Linked DNA regions of Homo sapiens: region 1 is linked to region 2. Evidence: promoter capture Hi-C in 16 types of primary human blood cells and fetal thymus (Javierre and others, 2016). All regions are on one chromosome and are shown on one strand. Each heading gives the region's core, a stretch centred on a gene start or on the middle of the fragment in contact. The rest is flanking DNA. Distances are from core to core; before and after follow the strand shown.

What was found. Contacts are between HindIII fragments. The CHiCAGO score rates a contact against its expected background, and 5 or more counts as called.
Region 1: the fragment with the promoter of TRPV6 here is called in contact with the fragment with the promoter of CLCN1 in region 2 in 2 of 17 cell types (neutrophils and monocytes); the score reaches 5.4 in neutrophils.

Annotation. Positions count from the first base shown.
Region 1 is chr7:142,884,333-142,887,325 of GRCh38, reverse strand. TRPV6 (transient receptor potential cation channel subfamily V member 6) reads left to right here and starts at 1,581. Exons shown (of 15, transcript NM_018646.6): 1 at 1,581-1,937. The coding sequence starts at 1,690. The HindIII fragment of the contact is 18,692 bases long and covers 1-2,993 here.
Region 2 is chr7:143,314,473-143,317,713 of GRCh38, reverse strand. CLCN1 (chloride voltage-gated channel 1) reads right to left here and starts at 1,603. Exons shown (of 23, transcript NM_000083.3): 1 at 1,322-1,603. The coding sequence starts at 1,501. The HindIII fragment of the contact is 3,265 bases long and covers 787-3,241 here.

The sequences.
Region 1 (2,993 bases), core at 332-2,831, 430 kb after region 2:
GCACATCATATACATACAGCATACCACACACAAAACACCCCACCGATGCACATCATGAACACACGCATAAACACCACACACAAATGCACATGGGCACACACGCCATACACACGCCACACACACACTCCCCTGGCTGGGTCTTCCAACTCTGAGTCAGAGAAAGTTAGGACAAAACAGACTCTGAAGCTAGGAAGTGATCCACACACCTGTGACTCTGAACACCCAGACACCTGCCCCTAGGCTATTGGCACCTGGCTGGCACCAGGAGGTTGGATAAGCCCGGGCTTCTGCCCCTTTCCAGTGGAAAAGTTGAACTAAATGACCTTTCCGACAGCTTCCAGCAAGCTCATGATGGAGCTCTTTGTTGTGGGAAGACGATGGGCCATGCTTAATGCCATCATTCTTCTGTATGACTGTGCGAGTCACTTAACCTCTCTGAAGCTCTGTTGGCCAGTTAGAATGAGGAGGTGTGCTAGGGAGAAAGAAGTGGGCTTGGAATGAGGGATGGGTGTGAATCTTGCCTCTGCCACCTCTATGGCCTTGGGAGAGTTCCTTTACCATGGTGAGCTTTGGTTTCTCCCATCAATACAATGTAGATAATAATACCTGCCTTGCAGGTTTGTTACGAGTTTACCTGGGAACGCTCAGTTAAAAGGCCCAGCACACAGTAGCAGCTGAATGTCACCTCCACGGGAAGGCTGGCAGATAGAATACTTGCAAAACGTGGGGTATATTTATACTAAAAAATTCTTTGTTGTTTATCTAAAATTCAAATTTGACCACGTGTCCTGTATTTTATCGGGCACCCACCCCATGCACGGGGCATTGTGGACAGTCTGTGGAGCTCCTGAGCAGGGGGTCTGCCCAGAGCTAGATTTTGTGCCCTGGCTGGTGAGCGAAGAATGCATTTTACATCTTTGGGGGTGGTTAGAAAACAACCACCAAAACAAAACCAAAGAATAACGTACATTAGAGAGTGTACATGGCTTGCAAAACCTAACATCTTTACATTTCCTATCAGCCCTTCCAGAAAAAGTTTGCTGACCCAAAGGTGATGGGGACTGAGAGGAAAGTCTGGGAGAACTGAGTATCTTCGCAATTTATATACCTATTTCAGGCCTGGCAAGAATGAAACTGGAAGAGTCCAGAAAATGGAATTCTCCAGGACATAAGCAGGGGGAGGCAGAGAGTGAGGCAGGTGGTCGGCAGAAGAGGCACTGTGGGAAAGTGGGGCGCTCCCTCCTGGGAGTCCTCAACATTGGGAATGGGCCTGCCCTGACTCCTCCCCTCCTTTCTCACTGCCTAGAGTCTCTCAGGGTAGGTCACTGGGTGTTCTGACGTCCAAGGGAGGCCTCGCCAGTCTTTCTGAAGGCCTCCCTGGTTGTGACTGGCCTGGGGGCAGGGAGAGAGCCCTGGGTGGAGAAAGAATTGGAGTTGGCACAAGTCCCCCTTGGTAGGCAGGTCTGTGGCTGGCCTGTGTCTTTAAATCTCAGGTAATTTGGGAGGAGGGAGGGCGTGTCCGTGCAGCTTTGGCTCCTCCTGCTCACTCCCAGCAGGAGCTCCAGACAGGCCAGCCCTGCAGAGTCCTGGCTGGCTCTGCCAAGTGTAACAAACTCACAGCCCTCTCCAAACTGGCTGGGGCTGCTGGGAGACTCCCAAGGAACTCGTCAGGAAGGCAGGAGACAGGAGACGGGACCTCTACAGGGAGACGGTGGGCCGGCCCTTGGGGGGGCTGATGTGGCCCCAAGGCTGAGTCCCGTCAGGGTCTGGCCTCGGCCTCAGGCCCCCAAGGAGCCGGCCCTACACCCCATGGGTTTGTCACTGCCCAAGGAGAAAGGGCTAATTCTCTGCCTATGGAGCAAGTTCTGCAGATGGTTCCAGAGACGGGAGTCCTGGGCCCAGAGCCGAGATGAGCAGAACCTGCTGCAGCAGAAGAGGTAAGGCCCCCTTGGTCTGCTCCCTTCCCCACCTCCCCAGGCCTGCACCTCTACCCCTCACCCCTCCCTCACCTCCCGTCTTTGTTTGGCACCTTTGGCTGGACAGATGGTGCTCCCAGGCCCGGACTGGCTCCTTGGGAGCATTCTGTCTTAAGAGCCTCAGCCTGTAGGGCTGGTGAAAGAGGATGGGGTTGAGATGGGCACAGGTGTTCACTATCTTAAGATCTAATTCGATTCTGCAAGCCTCTTGTGAGTACTTCTCTAAGGGCCAGGCGTCTTGCTGGGGCTTGTAAGGATAGAGCATCACAGCCCCTCCACCCAAGAGGGGACGGCAGGTGAGGACAATGCCTTCTGTATCTCCACTGCTTGCCTCTAGAACAGTCTCTCTGGCAGGAACACATAGTATACATATGTTCGCATGGAGGAATGAGTGAACGATTGAATGAATGAAGCAGAGAGAACCGCGGACACCAGGAACCAGAAAATAAGACAAAATGTGAAAAAAGTGACCATTCCTATGTATCTGTCTCATCAGACACTGACCAAGGCCTTACTATTTGCCCAGCACTGGGGGGATATGAAGACCTACAACGCTCAAACCCAACCTTGAGGTGTATTTCTCTCTCAGTGCGGGTGGGGACTGAGGGGAAGCGGGTCAAAATAACAGATGTTCCGAGGACCTGTGCTCTTCCGCATTCAGGTGGTGGAAATCGAGACTCTAGCGTTTAAGCCCTAAGGACATTCACTGGTGGCTTCCAGCCCCTGAAAACTTCCTAAACCCGTGTCCTGCTTTCTTCACCATGACAGCTTGGAGTACAGAGCAGGAGAGGAGCAGGGAATCGGAACTCAGGGCTATCCCTGCATGTGGTCTCTTCTTCAAGGTCTCTAATAGAGTTCTCTACCCAGTTGGTGGCATGCTAGAAGGAAGTCCTGCCTGTTGGGGCTTTCCCTGGGTCACGAAGGAGGCAGATGTCTGGTCATAGAGGAAAGCCTGAAGTCTTTGTGCCTTAGGGTTTTTCTCTGACCCCAAGAGTAGGAGCCTGCTTTAGCCTGACC
Region 2 (3,241 bases), core at 354-2,853:
TCCTGGGGGTTGGTCAGGGACTGAGAGCAGATCCTTTTGACCCCCAGTGCTGAGATCCCCTGCATAGCTCATGCCTCAGCTTCCCAGCCTTAAACCTAAAGGAACTGAAGGCTCCCTGTTAAAAAAAAAAAAAAGAAAGAAAAAAAAGCCTTTTAAGTTCTGACCAGACTGGGCACAGTGGTTAACACCTGTAATTCCAGCACTTTGGGAGGCCAAGGCGGGTGAATTACCTGAGGTCAGGAGTTCGAGACAGCCTGGCCAACATGGCAAAACCCCGTCTCTACTGAAAGTACAAAAATTTGCCAGGTATGGTGGCAGGTGCTTGTAATCCCAGCTACTCAGGAGGCTGAGGAAAGAGAATTGCTTGAACCCGGGAGGCGGAGGTCGCAGTGAGCCAAGATAGCACCACTGCACTCCAGCCTGGGAGACAGAGCGAGACTCCATCTCAAAAAAAAAAAAAAAAAAAAAAGTTCTGGCCAACTGCCCTCTAGACAAATTCTATCCTCTGTTATTCTCTGCATTCTTTGGAGGGAGAGGCACACTTACTTATTAACCATGACCTATCTTTTTCCATGACAATTTCACAACCTTTCCTTTAGTTGTGCCCATCCCCATTCCCCCTTTCCTAGGTGTTCATATCCCACCAATCCCACAGCGGGAGGCTGCTCATCCATAGACACTCCTAATTAGCCTGCATGCTTCTGTTGCTGGGATCACATCTCTGCCCTTTTCCAGGTGCCTAACACTTAATAGGTTCTTACTTGATCATCTTGCGACCTAAAAGCTTGTACATCTCTGCTCATTTTGACGTTGGTAGATCTTTGATCACTGATAAGCAATTCAGTCTGTTTTCTACACTTGCCCAATTCCTTTCTTCTGCCTTCTGCAGAAAGATTCATGTTTGTGTGTATTCTGCAGAGGGTCCCAGAGGCAGAAATCTGGCAGTGTCTACCTGTGGGTGAGGGTGTGGGAGACAGCTCCCAGCACACTGCAGTGTGGGCTCCTACGCAATCCACTCCACGTAGGTTATGTAAGCACGAGCTATTCATGCATGTGAGGCTCTGCTGTTTCCCCATATGATTTGGGTACTCTGTTGGTAAAGGTTGTATGAAAGTGCATGCATATCTCTCTAAGTGCATACTTAAGTGAGCCCAGACTTTCAAAGATTTTCATATTTTGAACACATCACCACGTACTTGTTTTTTAAGTTAAAAAAATGTAACACTGCTCCCTCTTTTCACCCAATTCCTCATTTTCACCAGTCTCTGGCACCACTGTCTCCCCTCATCCATGGCTCCCCTCTCCCCTTAGAGCACTTTACCTGTGTGGGGTGGACGTTGTGGCGGGGGCCTGCATCCTTCCGGAGCCTGTGCTGGAGGCCCCCATTCTCAGAGGGCAGTCCGTAGCTGGTGCAGTGTTCAAAGGGCATATACTGGTACTGGGGGTCACTACCCCACCAGCTTTGTTCACCCCCACGCTGCTGTGACCGGGATTGCTCCATATTCCCTCCCCCCGAGCCCCGGCCAGGCCTTGGCCTGCTTGCCCCTGTCCTTCCCCCAGTGTAGCTCCTTAAGCCTCTGCTCTTGCTGTCCCCAAGGCGTCTGGGGCAGCATGCCCACCTCCAGCTATTTATAGACCCCTCTCCGTCACATGACCCCCCACTGCCACATCTGATCTGCTTGGGGTCGAAGCAGGTGTGAGTGCAGTGTGGGGGTGGGGGTTGGGATGAGAACCTGAGGGACAGCCCCACAGGGAATTCCCTCTGCTGAGCCAGTGGCATTGTCCCCCTTCTTAGTCACCAGTAGTAGGCTTCCAGCTCCATGTCACTGGTCCCTCTATAAATATCGCCTGGACCAGGATGAGAAACTGCTGAGTATGCTCTCAAACCTATGTGTAGAGCCGGATCTGCATGGAAGCCCTCCAGTTGCCCATCTCTCTTCTTCAGGATGCGGAAGGTGAGGGGTGGGTGCTGGATAAAGATGAAGCGACTCGAAGTTCTGGAAACACTGGCACATTAACTCACCTGGGAAAGTAACTGGTGCCTCTCTGCCACATCTCCTGGCCAGCTTGTTCCCAACTCTGTGTCCACCCAGGGTTCTGTCTGGCCAGCTCTGCCAGCCCATCCCATGTCCAGCGTTCTTCTCTAGCTCTTTGCCCTTCTGTCTGCCAGAGGCTGCTAATAACAGCTTGGGGGCATCCCCTGATCCCATCCTTATCACTCACTGGGTGTGGAACACTTATGGGAAGTGGGAAGTCGAGGGTCGGTAATAGCCTTGGGTTCTAGAATTTCTCCCACTTCCCAGACTGTTAGGTGTCAGCCACACTGCCAACCCGGAGGGACTGAGCTTCCATTTGGACTGTGGAGTGCCCACACTGGCTCCATCAGATAGATAACAAGGGAGATAACAGGGGAGAATCGAAAGTAGAAAGAGGCACAGGGAAGGGAGAGGTGGGAAAGGGGTGAGGGCTTCTCATGACAAGCCCGACAAACATGAAAGATGATGGGGAAGTGCTCTCTGCTATTCTTCCCTTTTCAGGTCAATAAATACTTTTTTGGCCAAGGACAAACTTTTCTTCCTGGCATCACGTTATAAAACCAATTTTCCTATGACATGTCTTCCCTATGAACTCTTCACTGTAGGAGAAAAGATATGAACTGAGCCAAAGTAAAGTTTAGGATGCATTACCAAGTGGGGTCTGTCCCAGGACAGTCCAAGTTCAGGGACTGCAGGGTAGGGACACCAAACATCTGGTCTACAATGTGATTTTGACCTAGGCTAAATGGAACCACCCAAAGCAGGAGGGAAGCCAATATCATTAAAAGTACTTTTTCTAGGGCCTCAACATCATTAATCATCAGGAAACCAAAATCATAATGCAATATCGCCTCATACCTGTTAGGATGGCTATTATCAAAAAAGCAAGAGATAGCCATTATTATGGCTATGGATATTATGGTTCATGCTTATAATCCCAGCAATGTGGGTGACCAAGGCGGGTGGAATGCTTAAGCCCAGCAGTTCGAGACCAACCTGGCAACATGGGGAGACCCTGTCTCTATAAAAATTATAAAAATCAGCCATGTGTGGTGGTGCACGCCTGTAGTCCCAGCTACTTGGGAGGCTGAGACAGGAGGATCACTGAAGCCCGGGAGGTGGAGGCTGCAGTGAGCTGGGAAGGCACCACTGCAATCCATCCTGGTCTACAGAGTGAGATTATGTCTCAAAAAAAAATTAAATAA